Linked DNA regions of Homo sapiens: regions 2 and 3 are each linked to region 1. Evidence: promoter capture Hi-C in 16 types of primary human blood cells and fetal thymus (Javierre and others, 2016). All regions are on one chromosome and are shown on one strand. Each heading gives the region's core, a stretch centred on a gene start or on the middle of the fragment in contact. The rest is flanking DNA. Distances are from core to core; before and after follow the strand shown. Region 1 holds the start of FLRT2 (fibronectin leucine rich transmembrane protein 2). Region 2 overlaps LINC02328 (long intergenic non-protein coding RNA 2328). Region 3 overlaps LOC105370604 (a long non-coding RNA gene).

Evidence for each region. The method cuts DNA at HindIII sites, captures the fragments that hold promoters and counts their contacts. A CHiCAGO score of 5 or more calls a contact.
Region 2: a contact is called between a fragment that was not itself captured here and the fragment with the promoter of FLRT2 in region 1, in 3 of 17 cell types (M1 macrophages, M2 macrophages and M0 macrophages). The highest score is 6.7, in M1 macrophages.
Region 3: a contact is called between a fragment that was not itself captured here and the fragment with the promoter of FLRT2 in region 1, in 1 of 17 cell types (M2 macrophages). The highest score is 6.4, in M2 macrophages.

Annotation. Positions count from the first base shown.
Region 1 is chr14:85,528,574-85,531,577 of GRCh38, reverse strand. FLRT2 (fibronectin leucine rich transmembrane protein 2) reads right to left here and starts at 1,434. Exons shown (of 2, transcript NM_013231.6): 1 at 1,044-1,434. FLRT2-AS1 (FLRT2 antisense RNA 1) reads left to right here. Exons shown (of 2, transcript NR_184170.1): 1 at 1-2,961. The HindIII fragment of the contact is 5,870 bases long and covers 1-2,436 here.
Region 2 is chr14:86,033,176-86,036,179 of GRCh38, reverse strand. All of the region lies in intron 1 of LINC02328 (long intergenic non-protein coding RNA 2328), which reads right to left. All of the region lies in intron 4 of LINC02316 (long intergenic non-protein coding RNA 2316), which reads left to right. Among named protein-coding and RNA genes, the nearest start is that of LINC02316, 28 kb to the left of the region's middle. The HindIII fragment of the contact is 1,711 bases long and covers 619-2,329 here.
Region 3 is chr14:85,190,729-85,193,732 of GRCh38, reverse strand. LOC105370604 (a long non-coding RNA gene) reads left to right here. Exons shown (of 4, transcript XR_944102.1): 1 at 1-458; 2 at 1,470-1,513; 3 at 2,304-2,426. Among named protein-coding and RNA genes, the nearest start is that of SNORD3P3, 80 kb to the left of the region's middle. The HindIII fragment of the contact is 6,139 bases long and covers 1-3,004 here.

The DNA of each region.
Region 1 (3,004 bases), core at 185-2,684:
GGAGTTTCCCGGGTATCAAGTATGGGTCCAGCCCGTCCCAGTTATCCTCTTCCCCTATGGCTTCATTCCCGTTGTCAGTACCCCGACCTCAGCTTGCAACCTTGATCTTGGGCTTGATTATAAATGACGAAAGACCGCGGCAGCCTTCAAAGTGCGGGAGCGAGCCCCGTACTGGTCAGCGCGGCGGAGGGATCTTTCCAGGAGGCCCCAAGCCCCCAAGCCTGTGGAGAGACTTGGTAACAGCTGGCAAGGCCTGCTCCAGCCACCCTCGCTGGCTCCTTGCCCCTGCATTCAGCGCCTGAGGGCGTTATTCGCCCTCTCCCTGCGTCCCACGCAAGCGGCTCAAGGAACTCACTCGATCCGGATTCCGCCTCGTATGCTCTCCAAGCCTTCGCCACCTCCGCAGGCGCTCTAGAAAGGCGTGATGGCCCCAGCTCAGTGCCCGCCAGCCCGAAGAGGACAAGCAGGGCTGGAAGGGACTTGGTTTTGGAAAAAGCCCCACCCGCCCCCACCAACTGGAAGGAAAAGGAATTAGTATCCACCGCATCTGTTTAACTGCTAATAGATCCCAGATTACGGGCAGGTAGTAGGTTGGTGTCTTTAGATACAACAGCCTGATAATAACGCTGGTGACATTAACAACAGCTTGTGGAGGGGAGAGGGTTGTTACTGGTGAAAGTTAAGAGATTCAATCTAGGGAAGTAGGAGACTGAACTCTGACAAGGTTAGGGGCACTGAGAACCCCAATTTAGCATCGATGCATCTACCAGGCAAGAAAATTTGCGTTTTGACCCAGAACTCAGTCATGATGCTCCGTAGAGGAGGTGGATTCGACCAGCAGACAGATGTCCCCAAAGTCGAGAGAGAGCTAAGCTGCCTATTTTCTCTCCAGGTGAAAGACAAAGCCTAGAGCACCCCACTTAAGATGACCACCCCCAGCTCTTTCAAAAAAAAAAAATCCCCCGAAGAGACAGCGTGGTGCCAGCGTAGCAGCAGCTCGGCCGGTTACTGGAAACTTCACCTGGCAACGCAGCCCCTTTTACCTGACGGCTGCGTCTTCTCCTTGCAATGGGCTCATCCGAATCCGACAGGGTCAGGGAGGTGGAAAGGGAAGACGCTGGCGCGGCAGCAGCGGGGATCCCGGGGCATGGTATTGTTTTAGGGGTCGCCGCCGAGGTCCCTCCTGCCCATCGTTGAGAACTGCCACCCTGATCCCAGGGCTCGGTGGACACGGCGGCGGGAGCGGAGATGCCGCCTCGCCGCTGCTGGGCACCAGGGACGGAGGACCAGAGGCGCACCTCGGAAAGGAGTAGCTCAGCGCCTTGGCGCGGAGATTTGCGGGCACTGATGATATCTCGAGCGCTCGTTCCTCCGCGGTGACAATGGATAATGCCAAACGCGCAAGTGACGGCGACAGGTTTCGAACGTACAACTAACTACAAGGTACCCAGCCTGAGACAGTATGCTGCTTTTCCCCTCCTCCTCCTCTCCCTCCTACCAGGGAGGGAACTAACTTAACCCTGTGTGCGCCTGACACTCCCTAGAGAAGCTGGGATCGACTAGGAAACCGCAGGCAGCGGCTCCCGGGGGCGAGAGCTTTGTTCACGTGCGTTTCCAGTGGGTGTGTTGCTGTCTAGGGGCACTCGCGTGGCAAGACGCCCGTGGCTGGCTTCCAGCGCCCAAGATTCAAGGAAGGGAAGGAGCCCTAGCGTTTCATCCGGACCAGACCCAGCCCTCGGAGTCTATTTTTTGCCTCCAGTTACCGGATTTATTGAAGTTGCCAGCGAAGTTGGTTTTATTCCTTTACTTCTCTGCTCTCCGCCCCCGTCCACATCCCCCAACCCTGTATTATTTCCTGTCCTAGCTGCGCTTTAAAGATTCGGAACTTTTCACTCGTTCTAGCTACAGATTTTAACTGTGTTCCGTGTGCGAGACGAATTGTGGAGGGCACCCACCCACCCATGCCAAGTGTAAATGAAACCGCAAGAAAAGCTGCCTCCCACTCACCCATCCAGTGTCCGAGTAAGCCTAATGACACACATTCACATAACTAAGAAGACACGGGAAGATAGGGGTGCGGAGGACGGAGTTTGATGTGTGAATGGGAAATGGAGAGAGGGGACAGCGCGCGCGAGAGAAACAGCGCGAGCCTGAGCCTTAGAATGGAATAAACGGGAAACACACACAAGAATGACGATGCAAAAAATGTATCTAAGTCCCAACATTGACAGCAGAGGGTCAGCTTTAAGCGCCTACATTTTGATCCGCGAAATTTCCCAGCTTTTTTGGAGGCGGTTACATAGAGAACACAGGAGCCTCTGCCTTGGCCGCCCAGATGCTTTGCATTTTGTAAACAGCTTTGACTAAGTGCTCTGGACTTCCAAGAAGTTAACTGGAGTGGAAGGCGAGTCATATTGTGGATGCGGAATGGAAGCTTAGACAAGAAAAAACTGTCAGCAGAGCGCCTCTGCTCTCACCGTCACACCCAAATGAGCCAGGACGTCGCTCAGAGCGCAAACTGAGATCCACACAGGGACATCTTCAACCGAATCTTTCTTCTGTCTCCATTCCGGACTAAGGAAAGAAAGAAAGAAATACGGAGCCTTTATAGAGTATTCAGAGGCTACACACATGGATCTTGCTGAAACGGAGTTATTTAAAAACAGAGAAAGTGTGTTTTCCCATGAGATAGATGTTATAGTTTCTCTCTGAAACATACCCAAGTCTATGGGTGTCAATAATAGCCATTTCAAATGCCTCTCTGAGCCTTGCCAGCCCCAGAAGAGGCTGTGGGAATGCTGCTTCCAGCTTCCCCTGTGCAGAACTCCGTTGTAAATCCTTCTGAGTTTCCAAGGTGGCAGCAGAGCATAGGGATAGCTCCTCAAGCTCCAGCATCAACAAGGAAGATCACATTTTAGGACAAATACTCATCTACCTGCATTTAAACATCCATTTTCGTATGTAAGTGTACATAAGTATCCGCAGGAGGTTCTTCCTTTGAAAT
Region 2 (3,004 bases), core at 225-2,724, 500 kb before region 1:
AAATAAAGCCAAAACCGGCTATAGTGATAACTGGTGCTGTGTCAAGTATGACACAGCCATACCCCAGCTGTTAGGAACAGCACACCCTAGCGGCTTATAGCTGCATTGATCCCTGGGATTGGCCTTGGCCATTGCAACTGCTTGGTCCAAGGTTAGGTTGCCCCTTTCTCCAACCCCCTACTGCACCCTCACTAGAAGCACCCACTGTGAAAGGGCATCTCAACTCCAGAGCTTCTTATAGAACCAATAAAATTTCAGTTGCAATTTCATTCCAGGTCAGCTTCTCCATGTGCTCAATCCTGCTTTTCTAACTATCTTAGTAATATAGGGCTGAAAAACACTGCCAAATAAATCTGCAAGTTACCTTTCATCTCAGAGTCTCTTTCTATGGAGTCCATTTTCAGATCCTCCCCATGACACTTATATCCCACTTGAGAAACAAGATAATAAATGAAAAGGCAATTCACTGGAAGTAAAAGATGTTAATAATTATTATTAAGGATATACATAGTTTAAAAGTTAAACACATACATGTGTGCATTTGTACTTACGTGTATGTGTGTTCTCTGTGTATTTATGTTAATCTTTGAAACATATGTAAATAAAAATCCCAAAGCTTCTATTATCAGCTAAGTCTTAATTGCTTGTTCACTGCTCTGAGCTAAACAGATGTTATACATGCAAATAAAATTAGAAGACCCAAATGAGGAAAATGGGATATCATAGGTTTCTGGTTTGGAAGTGTCTAGTAATTGCAATAAACTTTGAATAATAAAATATCTTGCCAATATGGGAGGCCGCATAGCAGTACTCTGATGAAGTAGTGATAACATAATTTATGCTATCATGAAACTCTGAGCTATGAAGATCTTCACCTAGGGGGATCAGTATTCCCTAGATTACCTTAAACTTTGATAGTAGCTGCTGGCAACATGTGCATCCTGGATATCCTCGGCCTCTAAGTTCTTTCCACCTGCCAAATTCACACACAACAAGATTCCCAAACAGGGATGAGACCACGAACTTAGCAGAGCTACCTTATGTGACATCTAAAGAGGCAACCAATCTGAAATCAATCTATGAATAGATAGAGCCTAGTATCTGGTTGATTTTAGTTTTGTTTCGAACAGTTGCTCCCATCAAACAAGTAGGGGATCAGTGAGTATGTAGAAAATAGTCATGAAGTTTTAAAAAACAGATGGGTCTTTCAGAAATGCATCATCTTTTTTAAAATGACATTTCAAGAGGGAGGTGCATTTTCAGTAATTCTACAGTCGAGTAGTGTCTCAAAGGCTGATAAAACATCTTAATAACCTGTACTAGCTCCCCAGTCATTACCATTGTATGGAATTTTGGGATAAGTTCAATATCAATATTTATAAAGCCAAATTTTCACTATTTTTACATGTTTTAAAGAAAAACAAAAAATCATTCCTCAGGGATGCACTAATTTAAATCTGACACCTGTGGACATTGACTTGGCTAGAATTTACTATTTTTTCTTTTAATATGAGAAAAACATTAGCAAGAAAATTAGTAATTTGAGGATATTCTCAGTTGGTATGTTTAAATGCTTGAGGAAAAAGGTCAATGTTAAGCTCGTAATTAAATGTCATAATTAAAGATGTGATAATTACAAGTTACATTTTTTCATTAAAGTAACTTCCAAAGATCTTTACTTTTATAATGCCATTTTTGAGTTACTGCTACTCCTGTTATAATGTAATGAAAAGGCTTCCAATATGTATTACTGTATTTGTATATGTTGCTAAATCACACTGGTCTACTTACCCAATTAATAAAATGTGTTAGACATTCCTTCTATATGCCTTCCTCAACATGGGTGCAGTGATGTGTGAGCTGAACTCTGAAATATCTATGCTAACAAAACACAGATAAATTTCACATAAGCTCATAAATTTCTATTCATCTTTTCAGATAATATTGAAAATCCACCTGACTATAGACTTACTTGTCCAAGTTGTATGAAGCCTATCATTTGATTGGTCCAGTATATTCATATGTTTTGCCTCCCCAGCCCAGAGATGTCATCATGGGGCCCTCCCTTAAGAAAATGTAATAACAAAGAATATACAACTGTTTATAATATTTTAAATTAAAACTCAGAAAATCCATGATTTATTTCACACTTCATAAAAATCTCTCTTGATACTCAACTTGCCACCAAAAGAGGAGCTTCACAGAGTTCACATTTAATATCTCTCAACAGAGAGACCTAACCTTCTGTGGACTTTCTCCAAGATTTCACATTATGATAGCCCTGGTAGAAACAGAAAAGTTCATCTGGGGCCACATGTCAGTAGAAGCTTGAGAAATATTTATTTGAGAAATAGGATCGTGCCTCTCATGGTGGGACTCCTGTGGAGATTCATTAAGCGTGCAATTAACAAAAGTGCATTAACAAAAGGCAGCCTCTTCTATTTAAATAGAAAAACTCAATGAACTTCTGCCAGGGGATAGTTTTAAAAGTAAGACATAGATAAGCACATTCTTTAAATATTCAGAAAATTGCTTTTTGAATTATTTTTTAATGATGCAAGTTTTCTTTACACATCTGGAAACTAGCTATACTTGTAAAGAATTATACTATTTGGTACTTAAATTTTTAAAAGTGTAATAACTGTTTTTCACATTCCTCCATGTCATCATTGTGAATACTAACACTGATCCAGGCCATGGTGGAGATCTCTTCCGGAGACTGGATTTGCCCTTTACTGGGTGGCTTTATTTCTTCTATTTCCTTTTGACGTATTTGTTTTCACTTTTGTATCTGTTAGATTCACAGTCGTTATTCACTAACACCCGTGAACCTGCTTCTTCCTACCTTCCACTATTATTAGGTGCCTAAACTCTGCTGTACCAGTAGTGATTTGCATTTAACTAATTTATGTATTATAGATGTGTGTACACAAGTATGTGTAGACACACACATATATTCATGTATACATGTATATATCTCTCTTGTGTGACACCTAAATATTGA
Region 3 (3,004 bases), core at 237-2,736, 340 kb after region 1:
AAAACATAGGCCCCTCTCCGTAAAGGGAGGTATCTCAAATAATTTGTGGCCATCTTTAATCCACCATATCCCAGCAAAGTTCTATTCTTTGACAGCAGGCTTTTTAGGTAGCGTCACATTTTCAGCAACTATTGCTACTGCGTGCCTGTCTTCTGCATATTTCCTGGTTGCCTAGATTACGATGTCATGAGGAACTGATTAGGCCCTTTGCAACTGTGTCTTACATGAGCCACTGTAGCTCAGTCCCATCCCTTAGCTTGTTCCTCTCCTGCCCAATCAGAAAGTTATGTTTTACACCCAAGCCAGCTTCCGTTGTGACATCACACATAAAATGTGCGTAAAATGCTTACATCAATTGCATTGGCTCCTAGAATTCAGAAATTGCAGTGACTTAAACAAGAGAGTCATTTGTTTCTCTCTCACATAAAAGGAATTTGAAAGAACAGAGTCAAGATCAGGTATGGTGACTTCATGTTCAGGCAACTTCTTGTCTTTTCTATCATTCTTCAAGCATGGCTTCAATCCTTACTGTTACTTTGTGGCTGTTGACCCTCCAACTCTCACAACAAAGTTCCAGGCAGAGAGGCAGGAACAGGATAATAAGAGGGGGCAAAAATGCCCAAATCATCTGTCCATTCACTTGAGGAGCCTTCCTGCCTAGTTTCACCCAACAGCTTCTGCTTACTACTTCTTGTCCAGCTGTTACTACAAGAGAGGCTGGGAAATGTAGATCTTCATTTGGGCGTAAAATAACTAGTGAAAAATCAGGGTTCTTTTACTAAGGACAAAAAGTGGAATGAATTTTAAGTTTTTTTTTTTACAAAGCTCTAAATTGGGATAAGTCTTACCTAGAGTTTAAGAAAGGAATTACTATCCCAATAACTTCAGGTTTTAGGAAGATCCATTACTGTATTGCTTCCTGGAATTGGTTTATGAAGAAGGGTTTTGCTGTGAATTTTGACAAATGATTTTTTTTTTTTTTTAGACAGACTCTCACTCTCTCACGCAGACTGGAGTGCAGTGGCGCGATCTCGGCTCACTGCAACTTCTGCCTCCTGGGTTCAAGCGATTCTCCTGCCTCAGCCTCCCAAGTAGCTGGGATTAACAGGCACCCACCATCACACCCGGCTTATTTTTTTGTATTTTTAGTAGAGACAGGGCTTCACCACGTTGGCCAGGATGGTCTTGAACTCCTGACATCGTGATCCACCCGCCTTGGCCTCCCAATGTGCTGAGATTACAGGTGTGAGCCACTGCACCCGGCCGATATATTTTCTTAACCACTAGACATAGTACAAAGAGCAAATATAGTACCACTATAGTATATTGTTAAAATAATGATTGAATTTTAAGTAATGATTAGAACTAGTGATTACTGAGTCCTAGCACTTAACTCTGTTACCCAATTAATTTCTTACAAAACCCTATGTGATTTGTAACAGTATGATTATCTCTGTTTACTGTTGTAGATAATAAAGCTCAGAGAGGATAGCCACTTCCTCAAGGACACAGAGTAAGTGAAGCAAGCCTGGACCTGAGCCCAGGCAGTCTGCATCCAGAACCCAAGCTCTTAGTCATTATACCAAACCACCTGTCTTGAGACCTGTCTTGTTATGCCTAACATCTGAAAAAGGAATTTAAAACTATTTCTTGTTAAATTTTTTTCTGGCTATTAAATCTATGATAAGTGAGACCAACAAGCACTTCCAAATGATTGCTGGTACTTATATAGTTAACATTGTTCCCCTGTGTATCATTTTTTTTTCTTAAGATGGAGTCTATCTCTGTCACCTAGGCTGGAGTGCAGTGGCGCAATCTTGGCTGACTGCAACCTCTGCCTCCCAGGTTCATGCTATTCTCCTGCCTCAGCCTCCTGAGTAGCTGGGATTACAGGTGCATGCCACCACGCCCAGCTCATTTTTGTATTTTTAGTAGAGATGGGGTTTCACCATGTTTGTCAGGCTGGTCTCGAACTCCTGACCTCATGATCTGCCCACCTCGGCCTCCGAAACTGCTGGGATTTCAGGCATGAGCCAGTGTATCATCTTTTAGCTCTGCATCTAGTGGCATGTTTTGGCACAATTCCTAGTGCAAAAGGATGCCAAGTGTAACGTTTCTTATTGTCTCTGAAAAACAAAACAAGAAATGCCAAGTATTCACCCATTCCAAAGCGAGGTGTTAGCTCATGTAGGCATGGAAGGGAGCTTTTCATTCTATTATTAAAATTAAGGTTGGACAAAACCAGGATATATGGTCACCCTACATTATTAAAAACTAATTTTGCAGCCTTTGCTTATCTTCAGTGTTGCAGATGTTGTAAAGGGTGAACACTGTACCATTTAAAGGCTGAGAGATTAGAGAGAGAAGACCACTCGGAGTCAGAATTACTAATGTGCTTTCAGTCTCCTGCCACTTAGTAGATGAAGGTAAGACATGTGCTACTCCTTTACGTTAAGCCAAGAGAAATAGAAAGAGGTAAACAGCATAATTTAAAGCATAATTTAAAGACTCACAGTTCTGTGAGGAGACCGAGGCCCTGCTGGTCTATGTCAATCTTCCTTGTATTAATAGATTTAGAACCAAATAACCATGCTGGCCCAGGCCCTGGCCCTGGCCCTGCCAACATTTCCTTTGGCCCCGTTTCCTCCCTCAGGTAATACATTTAAATATTGTCTTAGCTAAGATACTTTGAGGGGTGGAATTGAGCTGGGAAAAGAAACACAGAGGATGAAGGAGAGAAGTTTCAGGTCATAGTTCATCATCAGGTTAAGTTGCTTAACTTTGTTATCAGGTTAAGTTGCAACAGAATCAGGGCCACCACTGTTCCTACCTGCCCATAAGCATCCTTGCTCAGCACCTCACCTCTGACAAGCTGTTTGCCAGGGAGCGATAGCCTAATTATATAGGATCTACAGGCACCTTCATTCCTTGATCCTTCCATCCCAACTCACAGTTCTTTGATTCAGTGCTTCTCATTGAAACTTGGCCTTCTCATGACATTTCA